Linked DNA regions of Homo sapiens: all the other regions are linked to region 1. The links are contacts of gene promoters, found by promoter capture Hi-C in blood cells and fetal thymus (Javierre and others, 2016). All regions are on one chromosome and are shown on one strand. The core of a region is centred on a gene start or on the middle of the fragment in contact, and the rest is flanking DNA. Distances in the headings are between cores, read along the strand shown.

The links. The method cuts DNA at HindIII sites, captures the fragments that hold promoters and counts their contacts. A CHiCAGO score of 5 or more calls a contact.
Region 2: a fragment that was not itself captured here is called in contact with the fragment with the promoter of TNFSF15 in region 1 in 7 of 17 cell types (naive B cells, total B cells, non-activated CD4 T cells and 4 more); the score reaches 8.4 in naive B cells.
Region 3: a fragment that was not itself captured here is called in contact with the fragment with the promoter of TNFSF15 in region 1 in 12 of 17 cell types (total B cells, neutrophils, monocytes and 9 more); the score reaches 9.4 in total B cells.
Region 4: a contact is called between a fragment that was not itself captured here and the fragment with the promoter of TNFSF15 in region 1, in 2 of 17 cell types (monocytes and neutrophils). The highest score is 6.9, in monocytes.
Region 5: a contact is called between a fragment that was not itself captured here and the fragment with the promoter of TNFSF15 in region 1, in 8 of 17 cell types (total B cells, monocytes, non-activated CD4 T cells and 5 more). The highest score is 8.1, in total B cells.

What each region holds. Positions count from the first base shown.
Region 1 is chr9:114,804,678-114,807,377 of GRCh38, reverse strand. It overlaps TNFSF15 (TNF superfamily member 15), which reads left to right and starts at 1,339. Exons shown (of 4, transcript NM_005118.4): 1 at 1,339-1,575. The coding sequence starts at 1,366. The HindIII fragment of the contact is 3,139 bases long and covers 1,120-2,700 here.
Region 2 is chr9:114,952,831-114,955,530 of GRCh38, reverse strand. No RefSeq gene overlaps it. Among named protein-coding and RNA genes, the nearest start is that of TNFSF8, 24 kb to the right of the region's middle. The HindIII fragment of the contact is 474 bases long and covers 1,122-1,595 here.
Region 3 is chr9:114,997,938-115,000,637 of GRCh38, reverse strand. No RefSeq gene overlaps it. Among named protein-coding and RNA genes, the nearest start is that of TNFSF8, 69 kb to the right of the region's middle. The HindIII fragment of the contact is 2,567 bases long and covers 121-2,687 here.
Region 4 is chr9:115,043,808-115,046,507 of GRCh38, reverse strand. It overlaps TNC (tenascin C), which reads left to right. Exons shown (of 28, transcript NM_002160.4): 17 at 1-98. Among named protein-coding and RNA genes, the nearest start is that of TNC, 73 kb to the left of the region's middle. The HindIII fragment of the contact is 7,382 bases long and covers 1-2,700 here.
Region 5 is chr9:114,969,294-114,971,993 of GRCh38, reverse strand. No RefSeq gene overlaps it. Among named protein-coding and RNA genes, the nearest start is that of TNFSF8, 40 kb to the right of the region's middle. The HindIII fragment of the contact is 3,315 bases long and covers 1-2,700 here.

The sequences.
Region 1 (2,700 bases), core at 90-2,589:
TAGCAACTGGATGGAGGCGCTAGTAAAACTGGTTTCTGCCGTACATCACAGGCCATTCCTTAAACTTTCCTATTATTTCTAGAACCCATCTTTTCCCAGGGTCCTTTACTTTCCTCTGAGATCAACCCTCCCTGAGCTCTAAGGCCGAGTTCCAACACCACCTCTTTCTCCAGGAAGCCCCCTCAACCCCCTCACTGCAGGGTCTTACCCACTCCTGGGTAAAGACAGTGCAGGTATTTATGAACATGCATGATCCAGCAGTACCTATGGTGAAGTGTGATGGTGAAGAAGCCAGCAGCCAGCCTGCCTGAGTCCCAATCCTGGCTCTACCACTTGCCGTCTGTGCTTTATTTTCTTATGTGTAAAATGAGAATGATAGCTTTATTGTCACAAAATTTATCTCAGGATTGAATAATTTTATTGATGTATTTAACTTAGAGCAGTGATTGGCACAAAGTAAGCACTTAATAAATATAATCTTTTATTACATGTTGTGGCCCCCACACCCAACTGCAGGCAAAGCACATCACATGATCAATTAACTTTAGACTAATCAGGGAGTAGTGGTTAATGTTCTACCCTCACAGACAGTCACCTCGATCTGTGGCCTCATACTCTGATTAAACAATGGTCAATGCAGACTGGAAATACTTTCCTTTCATGGGCAGTCATGTGCTAGAGGTTACAACTCCAAGCCGTGATTTAGAACTAGGTCATCTTCCTAGCTCCTCTGTCTTCATCCTTGGATGACCTAGGACAAGTGCCTTCACCTTTTAGAACTTTGCTATTCCCATCTGTACACTGAGAATGAATTTCTATGAGGTTCAAAATGACAGAGGGCTAGGCAGCACTTTGCAAAGAGCTGATGCAAATGTGATTTCCGTTTCCCAATCTGCAAACCACACACCTCTCATCCCTCACTTTCACTTCCAGAAGCACACTCCCCAGACTGGCACAGCTGGTAAGCCTCCAGTGCAGGGAACAGGTATATTTTAATTTGCCCCACCCACTGACTTGATGAATTCTTTCTCTCCTCCTTCAGGGACTTTCCTAACTTCCTTCTGTAAACGAAGGAAGGAGCACATGAGCATACTGTATATAAATATGCTTGGGAAAGCTTTCTTCTTCTCCTTCTTCTTCTTTTTTTTTTTTTTTTTTTTTTCCTCAAACCAAACTTGGTTTCTGTTGTAGGCGGTGCATTCTCTAGCAGGGTAGGGCCACAGTGTGCTCTTGAAGAGGGGAGGGGAGAGGAAAAGGGAAGGAGGAGACTGAGTGATTAAGTCACCCACTGTGAGAGCTGGTCTTCTATTTAATGGGGGCTCTCTCTGCCCAGGAGTCAGAGGTGCCTCCAGGAGCAGCAGGAGCATGGCCGAGGATCTGGGACTGAGCTTTGGGGAAACAGCCAGTGTGGAAATGCTGCCAGAGCACGGCAGCTGCAGGCCCAAGGCCAGGAGCAGCAGCGCACGCTGGGCTCTCACCTGCTGCCTGGTGTTGCTCCCCTTCCTTGCAGGACTCACCACATACCTGCTTGTCAGCCAGCTCCGGGCCCAGGGAGAGGCCTGTGTGCAGTTCCAGGTAAGCCACATGGCACTCTGACCTTGGGGAGGAGCAGTGGACTCTCTGCAGTGAGTGGCAACTATTTCAGCTCTGGACAGAGGATAGAGTTTCTTGATGTATCACATTTCTTGTTTCTACATGCAGAGGAAATGTAGAGTGGGAGGGGTGGAGAGGTTCAATTTGGTGTTTATTCTCAATATTTCTAGGGAATGAACAGTCCCTTCTTTTACTGTGGGGATAACCTTCAGCCTCATATTTTTTAGATAATTATAATCATAGTATACTGGTAATTTGGGAAGATTCTTTTTATTTAAGAAAAAAACTTAAAATTACATAACTAACACGGTCATTGAAAAAAGTTAGAAAATACAGATAAGGAGAGGAAGAAAGTCATCATTACCCATAACTCTTATAGCTGACCACTGTTAACAGTTTGGGATATATAATTCTGTACAGAATTATATGCCAGATATAAAACGGATTTTTTAATGAGACGAGATTATTCTGAGTCTGCTAATATATTATGATTTTATTTATATGCTAATGAATTCACAACAACATGATGCTATAGATACACATTCCTATATGTGGATGCTATAATTTCTTTACCCACTCTTTTTCTTGGGTTTAGAACTTTTTCTCTTTTTAGAGCTTAAGAAAGAACCTCCTGCCTGGTTGTCTATCTCTAAGGTCTTGCTGAGGCCTGGGAGAAGCCTAGTCAGAAAAAGAATATGAAGTCTAGGGAGAACAATGGTAGGGGCAGCGATAGGTGTCAAGAAGAAAACATAATTCTTGGCTGGGAACAACAAAGATGTACCTCAAAACCTAAGGAATGAGTCTTTCCAGTAATATCCTTTTTAAAAATGTCCCTTCATAATCTATGGTGGCTGATTTCATTTCAGTTCAAAGTATTAAATTGCAAAGGGAAAAAAATGGGTTTTCAATGGGTTTAACTGGAAACCTAGCCTCTAAGCAATCCTGGCCAGTTTCAAAGCATAGACACCACAAGTAAGCCATGGAAAATCTGTAATTCTCGCTGCCCCATCAGGGTCAACAAACAGACTGTGATTCAGGCAGCAGCGTTCATGGCCAGATGCCATTGCTCATAAAATGTAGAAATATGCAGACAAACCGGAAATGCTG
Region 2 (2,700 bases), core at 109-2,608, 150 kb before region 1:
TTACACCCTCTTTTTTAGGAGGTTACTTGAGAATATCCTCCAGCTAAACCAAGGAATGAAACAAGAAAGAGGAAGTGCGGAGGTCCAAAAAACAAGGGGTCTAAAACAGGAAAACAGTGGGGGGAAGTTCCAGGATGCCAGCAGGGTAGGACACAAAGAGAACCAGCAGTACAGATAGCAACGCAGGCAAGGGGGCTCTAGGACAGGGCTTTGGGAAAGTAAAGCATTACAAAAAAATAATATCTGGTCTATTTTATCATTTTGATTAGGAGTTGACAAACTGCAGTCCGTGGACCAAATCCTGCCTACCACCTGCTTTTGTAAATAAAGGTTTTTTGGAACATGGCCAGCTGCCCCCCTTCATTTACATATTGTCTGCAGCTCAGTTGCATATTGCCCATGACTTTAACAGCTGAGTTGAGTAGTTGCAACAGAGGCTGTCTGGACCAAAAAGTCTAAAAATATTTACTATATGATCTTTTATAGAAAGAGTTTGCCAACGCCTGATTTAAAAGGAAAAACTAATTAGTGATCTGATGGAATGGGTGAAAAAAAGATAAAAATAAATGTAGAACAAACAACACCAACTGGAGGTAAACAGGCAATTTTAGGAAGAATAAAGTTGGACAAGAAAATATATGATCCTAGTATACTACTTGGACTCTGCAAATAATTTTTGTATAATCATAAAAACATAAACAATGATTTGGATTTATCCAAAAATTGTGAAATGAATATTAAAGCAAGAGGAGAAATGAAGAGATGTATAGAAGATCTAAATTTTCCTTTTATAGCAGAAAATCAGTAGAAGTCTAATATTAATAAATCAATATATAACAATATAAGCATATTTGCTAGAAATACTGAGGCATGTATTAGAAGAGACAGCTAGCACAGTTCCAAGTGATTTCTCTGGAGAGCAGGACCAAGTGAGGTAGAGATTCATAGGCAGAGCACTGCTGTTTTCATTATAAACCTTCAGCATGTTTTTTAACTTGATAAAGTGGCAGTTAATTTCCAAAAATACTCAATCTCAAAAATTATAAAATATGATAGGTATTATGAAGCCCTAAAACGAGGTACCATGAGAGAGAATAATGGAGGTAGATAAACTATAAGCTTACTTTAGTCTGCAGGGAAGGTGGTTCTAAGAAGATGACATTTAAACTGAGAACTTGAAAGCTAGCCAGTCAGCCAGTTTAGGGGAATGGGCCTCCAGGTAGAAGGACCAGCATGTGCAAAGGCTTGGGTGTGAGAGCGAGCTCCGTTGGGACTTAAAGGATCTGAAGTCGTTACGATCAGCTGAAGGGGAGAGTGTGCCTGCAGAAGCCCTCAGGAGCAAACTTGCAAAGACAGCAGGAAAGAGACCATGAAGCATTTGTACCCTATCCAAAAAGCAACGCTGAGTCACTGGATGATGCCATAAACACAAGAATGTGTCGCAAGACTGAGACCAACATTTGGCATATGTTTCTTCCTTTTAAGATTTTTGCCTATAAACAGATTCCAGTCCATAACCTAACAAAAGAAGTTACCGTACTGTCAGAAAGTGGAGCCAGACTGTATGTGTTTCCTGTAGGATGACATGTCAAGCTTAGACATAAGCCAGCAAGGGGACCTCCCCAATGTCCTTGCTGGATTTGGAAGTGGCCATGTGCTACTCAGGGATTGCCTGCTCTCATCAACTATGTGACAGCTTCTTCTTCTCAAGTAAACTCCTACTTTGCTCCTTATACATACCCACTACTTTCCCTTAATCCCTCCTGGAATTTTGGATGCAAGATTTCCTACAATCTCTCCTTGGGCTCCTATGGGCCTCTCTTTGACTAAATCCAAAGTCTTGGTCTTGGCCATCACTGCATTGGCTTCCTAAATGCCCTCTTTATCCGCTCCTCATTCTGTTTCAGATGTCTCAATACAGATGAGTCTCTCAAGGAAGGACCCAAGAGATACTCTCTCCCTACCTCCATGAGGAAAATGGAACCCAGGGAGAGCAGCAAGCTGATAGCAGAATCAGGATCACAATGCAGATTGCATTGCTTTGCTTGTGAGGAGACCCCTTCAAGACTGCTGAAAAGAAGCCATCACATGCCCTTGGCCAGAAGCCTGGCATAGTGAAATTCCGAGAGGTGGAGTTCCTTTTTTATTTTTTTCTATTATGATTTTCCTCTATTAAAGAAATAGCAATTAATATTTGAGAAAATGTGCTCTAATTACATTTTGCAATCCATGCCCTTGGGTTAAAGTGAACCCAGATGTAATTATTTTTGTGAAATAGCTCTTAACTCTCTGCATATTAAGTCTTGCTTCCTTTAAAAGCAGCAGGATGCCTTCACATCATTGCTGTTGGCATTTTCTTGTCAGAATTACTAAGGATTAATTACAAATTACTTTTATTGCACTGGGAGTAGGCAGCACAGAATCAACAATGTCTCCTAAACGTTAATGTAGTCAGTAGTTTTCAGTCATTTTGGTCTCAAAACTCCGTAGCCTTTTAAAAATTGAGGACTCCAAAAAACTTGTGTGCATACGGCTTTATCTATGAATATTATTAGAAATAAAAACTGAGAAACTTAAAAAATCTGTACTTATTAATTTATTTTAAAACAACAGCAATAATCCTGTTGCAGTGGGATTCATGGGTTATTATTATTTTAAAATAAATTAATAGGTAAAGAGTTACAGAAATAGTTTAACATA
Region 3 (2,700 bases), core at 155-2,654, 190 kb before region 1:
TAGTCAACTATGATGGGACAGGTGATTTGGGGTCACTGGAATCAGAGCTGAGAGATGGAGAGTAATGACTACTACTCCTTCCCACATCTCTTGTCTCGAATTATGTGACTCTGCTAAGCTTGTCTTTGATCCCAAAAGACATCTGTGCTGGCACCGGCTTTGCCATCTGCACTGCTGAGTAAGGAGCGAATGTTCAAACAGCTTCACCCATGGAGTCCAAGGAGGACGGGAAATTCCCCTGGAAGTCCAAAGTGAACCGAGGCCAAACTCTGGGCTTTTTCTGAGCAAACATTTTGAGAGAAACCAAAGTGATGATGATATAGAAGAACAACCGGGGCTGTCCCCTTGCACCGAAGCAAGACTGATGAAAACACAGGGATTAGTACAGATGATTCATTGCCAGTCCTTTCCCTGAGAGTGTTTGCTAGTGGCGACCCAATAAATACCGGATCTCCAAAAGCGCTGACAATTTGCAGACCGGGCCTGGGAGTTATAGAAATCACTTCCGAAATTGGTGGGAGGAAAAAGCGAGGTATGGAGACACGGGGGCGTATCCCTCTTCCAGAATTCACGTTCCTTCCTTTGGTAAGATACTTTCCTCCTCCTAAGTGTGGGTGACTCTAGAATCTAGATGAATGGTGCCTGAGATCCCAAACTTGCATCCCTCCTGTGTGGGTGAGAATTCATGTTTCTCTGTGAGTTCTGCCTCTGACCCCGATGAGGAGGGGTGGGAAGCTGTGGAGGCAAGTGGGGGAGCTGCCTCACGTCTGATTATTAATAGTGAGGAAAAACTAAAGGTCTCTGGAGTGCTGCTTCAGACAGAACCTACAGTGAACAGAGCTTTAAAACAGGCAGTACTCTGTTCAGTATCTTGACTGTGAGGGTGGATCCACAAATCTACATTTGTGATAAAATGTATACAAGTAAACACAGAAAGAGAGAGACAGAGGAAAGAGAACGAGTTAAACAGGGGACATCTACATGAGACCAGTGGATTGCATCAATCTCAATATCCTTGTCTTAATTTCCTATTGTGCTATAGTTTGGCAAGATACTACCATTGGGGGAAACTGGGCAAGGAGTACACAGATTTTTTCCGTATTATTTCTATTTTTAAAAACAGTTTGTTTTTTTATTGATTCAAATACCATACAATTCACTCGTTCAAATTCTACAATTCAATGACTGTTAGTGTATTCACAGAGTTTTGTGTCTATCACCCCAATCAATTGTAGAGAATTTTCATTATCCCAAAAAGAAACCCCTCACTCCTTAACCATTACTTTCTGACCCCACCATTTCCCAAGCCATAGGCCACTGCTAATCTACTTTCTGTCTCTGCAGATTTGCCTATTGTGTAAATTTCATATAAGAAGAGTCATAAAATTATGTGGTCCTTTATAACTGACTTATTTTACTGAACATTTATTGTAGCATGTGTCAATATTTCATTTTTTTATTACTAAATTATTATCCATTGTATTTATTTATTCCTCATTTGACAGACATTATTTGGGTTTTTCCGATTTTTGGCTACTATGGATAATGTTACTATGAATATTCATGTACAGGTCTTTGAGTGGACATATGTTTTCAGTTGTCTTGAGTATATACTTAGGAATGAAATTGCTGAATCTATGGTAACTAACTCTACAATTAACCTTTTGACAAACTATCAGACTGTTTTCCAAAACATCTGCATCATTTTACATACCCATCATTGGAAGGAGGATTCCAATTTCTCCATATTCTCATCAACGGTTGTTATTATTAGTCTTTTTTTATTATGACCTCCTAATGGGTGTGAAGTGGTATCTTATTGTGGTTTTAATTTGCATTTCCCTGATGGCTAATGAGGTTGAGCGTCTTTTCATGTGCTTATTGGCCATTTGTGTATTTTCTTTGGAAAAATGTCTATTCCAACTCTTTGCCCACCTTTTAATTAGGTTATTCATCTTCTTATTATTGATCTCTATTATTTCTCATAATTGCATGTGAATTTATAATTATCTCAATAAAAATTTCCATTTTAAAAAAAGGATGTTGGGGAAAAATGGAAGGGAATTCAGAGGAAAAAAGTACAGTCATGCATCACACTCAATTCTGAAAAATCCATCATTAGGCAATTTTGTTGTTGTACAAACATCATAGAGTTCACTTACACTAACCTAGATGATACAGCCTACTACAAACCTAGGCTATATGGTATAGCCTATTGCTCCTAGGCTACAAACCTGTATAGCATGTTACTGAGCTGAATACTGTAGATCATTGTAACACGGCGGTAAGTACTTATGTATCTAAGCATAGAAAAAGTACAGTAAAAATAAACTATAAAAGATTTAAAAATGGTACACTTGAATAGGGTGCCTACCATGAATGGAGCTTGCAGGACTAGGAGTTGCTCTGTTGGTGAATGAGGGGTGAGCAAACATGAATGTCTAGCACATTACCGTACATTACTGCAGATTTTATAAACACTGTACACTTAGGCTATGCTAAATTTATTTTTTAAATTTTTTCTTTCTTCGGTAAGTTAACCTTAACTTACTATAACATTTTCACATTATAAACTTTGTAATTTTTTAAAACTTTTTGAGTCTTTTGTAAAATACTTAGTGTAAAACAAACACATTGTACAGTTGTACAAAAATAGTTGATTTCTCTATATCCTTATTCTGTAAGCTTTTTCTATTTTTT
Region 4 (2,700 bases), core at 146-2,645, 240 kb before region 1:
CATAACAGGTCTCAGAGAGGCTACTGAATACGAAATTGAACTCTATGGAATAAGCAAAGGAAGGCGATCCCAGACAGTCAGTGCTATAGCAACAACAGGTACTGTAAATAAACAGGAGAGAACAGAGAAAAGTCATGACTCAGGGGTCTTCTTCTCACAGGGCTGAGTAATCACAGGAGCTTTGGATGCAGGCAGGCTGGCGCTCTGATCCTGACTCTTTCAATTACAGACTGTGTTACCTTGGACAATTTGGCTAAGTCCTTATGCAAAAAAAGTATGATGCCATTTACTTAATAGGGTTGTGAGGATTAAATGAGATAATTCATATAAAGCCCATAGCGGAAGGCCTGGCAGGTAGCAAGGGCCCAGCAAATGAGAGCTATTCACGTTGCCATTAATGCATCATCATCGTTACAATTATCATCTTTTTTTTTTTACGTTCCAAAGATTCTTCCTTCTATCTATTATCTCATCATATCTCATCTCATCATATCATATCTCATCATTTTATCCAGAGATACACTTCCTTGTTCTTTGGCCAAATGTTCGAGCTATACCAAGTAGGGAGATAATGGAGAAGCAGCACGTCTATCTATACACATTAATATTTATAAAATGCTACATGTGAATAATCAGTACGGTGATCAGCAAGGATAAAGGAGAGAGCTGGCAAGATTAACATGCTACTGTTTATGAAGCTCTCTAACTTTGATACTCATAACAACTCTGAAAGGCACCTAGAGTGTCCTTGGAGTTTAATTACCTTTTTCCATAGGAGCTGTTTCAAGGAGAAAAAAAAAAAAGATGGTTAATAATATGACTCTTAGGCCCAGAGTGATGGCTCACACCTGTAATCCCAGCATTTCAGGAGGCTGAGACAGGAGGATCACTTGAGTCCAGGAGTTTGAGACCAGCCTAGGCAACATAGTAAGACCCTACCTGTGCAAAAAAAAAAAAAAAAAAAAATCAAAAACTTAGCCAGGTGTGGTGCCTCATGCCCGTAGTACCAGCTACTCTGCAGGCTGAGGCAGGAAGATCTCTTGAGCCCAGGAGGTTAAGGCTGTGGTGAGCTGTGTTCGTGCCACTGCATTCCCACCTGGACGACAGAGCAAGACTCTGTCTCAAATAATGATAATAATAACAGTAGTAATAATATGACTCTTTGTAATAATAATAATACTAAGATGAACATGACTTTTTAAAGAGAAAAGGAAAAACCTCCAACAAGTCAAGTAAATTATTTCATGAAACTGAGGGAGATGCAGAGACATAGCATTCGCTGGAGATGGCTGCTTCAAAGGGAACCAGGGGACAGAACCACAAAATCACCAGGAGAGATAAAAGGGACCTGAGAGATGATGTAGCTCAACCTCTTCTGTTTGTGCATGAAGACTCTGAGGACCAGAATGGTGAAATGATTTTTCTATGATCATAGAGCTAGATTTGGAGTAAAGCCCAATGACCAGCTTATTCTAATACTATTTAAAATGAGCAGTCTGGATGAGAGAAAACCAATGCATATAGCTACTTGCCATCTCTGACAGGCATAGGCATGACATTTGCCAAAACCTCTCCTTTTTGTCTAAAGATAGATATTTTATATTGTTAAGTTTTCAGGACCTAATAAGTGGCAAGAAATCACCCATGTAAAAATAATAATCAGTATTTGTAGGCTTGGAGAAAATGCTAGAATCCAGGCAGCAACCTAGTAAGAGGGAAAAACCCTGTTTCTTATTAACAGGGACACCCTATCCTGGGATGCAGGTCTCAGTCTCCTCCTCCCTGTGGCTGCCCATAAAACGACTCCAGATCAGAGGCAGAGCCTTGATTTTGATCTTGGTTTATAAACAGTGTTCTTCGAAGTTTACTTCTTCTGATCATTGATTTGTTTTGCTGATCTTTTTTTTCTAGAAGCCCTGCAGTTCTAAAGCAAAAAAGAGAATGAATAATCATGAATTGAATTTTTTTTAAGAACAACAAAAAAAAAAGGCAAGGCAGACCCTGCTCTTTTGGAAAGCCCTCTCTTTGATTTTCTTCTCTAGAGCCTAGTAGCTTATAGCCAAAGAGAGGTGCCCATGCGCGTGCGTGCTTGTGTGTGTGTGTGTGTGTGTGTGTGTGTGTGTCTACATGCCTGTGCTCCAGGACCAGGAGAAGACAGGAAAGGGGGCTCTTGAGCACAGAAGATGCCTAATTTCTATCTTCACCTCATCAAGTTTATAAATTTCCCCTTTTGTTTTTTTTTTTTAATCCTTTCTCCTCTCCTCTCTTCCTCCCTCATACCATTGTAAACTCTTCTCTGTAATGTCCTATCCCTCTTCCTCCTGAGAAGGCCCTGCTGTAGCTCCTCCTCTCACTCACAAGGTACCTCTCCATAGCACAAGCTGCCAGCCCTGGGTGCCCAGGGCAGTAGAAAGGGCAGTGGGAGACAGTGTTGCCTGGTGGTTAAGCCAACAACCATGGGACAGTGTCCTTGGAGTTTCATCATGGCTCTACCTCAATTCCTTCATCTGGAAAATAGAATTTAACTCAAAGGTCAGCCACGAGGTTTACATAAGATCATGAATGTCAAGTATTTAGCAGAATTTCTTTACCCACAGTAACCATATTAGCTATTAATGTGTTTGGCCATAAGATACACCTACTAAAATGTACCTACACCAATGAGGTTTTCAGTCAAAGCAATAGTGCGAGTACACCAGG
Region 5 (2,700 bases), core at 5-2,504, 160 kb before region 1:
TTCTGTCTTTTTTTGTCGACTACTTGAAAAGGAATGTTGGAGACTACAAATATAATTGTGAATTTGTCTAATTCTTCTTCGAGTTGTGTTCATTTTTGTTTCATGTATTTTAAAGCTCTGTTAATTGGGTACAAATTAGGATGGTTATGTTTTCTTGATGTTCACATCATTATAAAGTATCCCTCTTTAGTCCTGATAATATTCCTTCCTTTGAATTCTACTTTATCTGATATTAATATATCCAGTCCACCTTTCTTATGATTGGTATATGCATATTGTATCTTTTTCAGTACTTTTCATTTTAACTTATCTGTATATTTATAAATAGTTTCCTTATAAGCAGCATATAGTTGGTCTTGCATTTTATCCAATCTGAAATCTCTGCCTTTTAATGGGAGCATTTAGACTATTTATACTCAATATAATTATTGACATAATTGGGTTTAAATTTATCTTTTTGTTATGTGTTTTGAATTTATCCCATATGCTCTTTCTTCCCCTTTTTCTTCTTTCCTACCTCCTTTTGGATTAATTGCATATTTTCTATCATTCTATTTTAAATCCACTATTGACTTATAAGCTATACTTTTTTGTTTATTTCTTTGTTCACTAAGGTTCATAACATGCATCTTAATTTTATCACAGTCTACTTTCAATTAACATTATATCACTTCACATATAAATTTAAAATCTTGCAACAGTATTCACTTCCTAATATACTGTGAGTTATTTTATTATAAAATTTATTCTTACATAGCTTAAAATTCTCAATACATTGGTATGATTTTTGCTTTAAACAATCAATTATTTTTAAGAACTATATAAATTTAACAAATAAAAAAGTATTTTATATTTACCATGTCTGGAGCTTTTTATTTTTGTGTGTAGATCCAAGTTTTCATCACTTATTTTTCTTCCATTTAAGGACTTAAATTTTTAAAAAACATTTCTTGTTATGCAGGTCTCCTAGCCACAAATTTTCTGGTTTTTTTTTTTTCCAGAAAAAAAAAATTATTTTGCCTTTAATTTTGAATAATGTTTTGGTCAGATATACAATTTTAAGTTTATAATTTCTTTCAGCATTTTAAAGATGTTTTTCCATTCTTCTGAAATACATAGTTTCTGAGGGGAAATTAATTTGTATATTTGTTTCTTTATGCATATTTTTTCTATTTTTAAGGTTTTTCTCTTCACTTGTTTTCAGGAATTTAATTAATATGGGTTTTTTGTGTGGCTTTCTTTGTGTTATTTCAGCTTGAGGTTTATTGAGTATCTTGGATCTGTGAATTTATATTTTTTATGAAATTCATAAAATTCCTAGTCATTGTCCTTCAAATATAAATGTTGATATAAGTAGCTAACATTTGATAAATGTACATTTTAAATCAGCAGCAAAAATATGTATATAAATGCTATAAATTAAGTGGTTTGGAATAATGAGCTATCTCTTTTTTCAAAAAAAAAATGGATCTTTTCCTCACTTCATTCACAAAAACAAATTGGTTTTATATTAACAACCTCATGTAAAAAATGGAAATATAACAGTTTTCAGTGAAAATAAAAGGATTAGTTTAGATACTTAGTATAAAATATTCAAGTTGTTGATCAAGCAAACCCTGTATTTATACAAAAATTAACTAGTGGCCAACTAGGTAGGCACTCCCTGATCATCACCCAAAATCAAATCTACCATACATGATTGTGAAGTTTATGGTAAGCAAGCTCAAAATATTTTTATTAGCTGTTCTTGAAAGAAAAATTATGAAATTATGAAAGTTGTGTACTCTTTTCTTTTTTTTTTTTTTTTTTTTTTTTTTGAGACTTTTTCACTCTGTCACCCTGGCTGGCATGCAGTGGTGAAATAATAGCTCACTGCAGCCTCAACCTCTTGGGCTCAAGTGATCCTTCTTCTTCAGCCTCCCAAGTAGCTGGGTCTACAGGCATATGCAACCATGCCCAGCTAATTTTTAAGTCTTTTACAGAGACTGGATTTCACTATGTTGCCCAAGTTGGCCTCAAACTCCTGGCCTCAAACAATCCTCCCAACTCTGCCTCCCAATGCTGGAATTACAGGAGTGAGCCACTGTGCCCAGCCCTCTTTTGAAAATGTTCCCGTGTATTAAGTTCAGCTACAACAATTTGTAAACCAAAAATAAGAGTGTTTTAAACAAAATAGAAATATATCTGTCTCTCATGCTTATGTAAACATACACAGTTAAAAGCCTGCATAGAGGCTTGACTATTGGCAGATAACCTGGACACCATGCTTCTCAATGCACTGCAATTCTCAACATGTAACTCCATTTTATGATCCAAGTTCCAAATATCTTACCCATTTATCCATTTTATCTTAGTCAGCCAGAAGGAGATATTGGAAGGAGAAAATTATGTCCTCTCACTCTAAGATTTCCTGGAAAAAAAAAAAGTCAACATTAATTCTATTTCCATCCCATTGGTCAGAATTGAGCACATCTAGCTGCAAGGAAGTCTGGGAAATGTAGTTTGTTCTGGGCTTCTGTATCCAGGTGATTCTAGGTGGTGCATTATTGAGGAAGAAGTGGAGAACAAATACTCGGGGACAAGCAGCCTTTCTGCATTATTTGTTCTTTCTTTCAACAAAATTGTTTGGCTCCCTATCTACAAGACACTAGTGATGGCCCCTAAGATGTAGGATGAACAAGCATACAGCCCACCCCCACC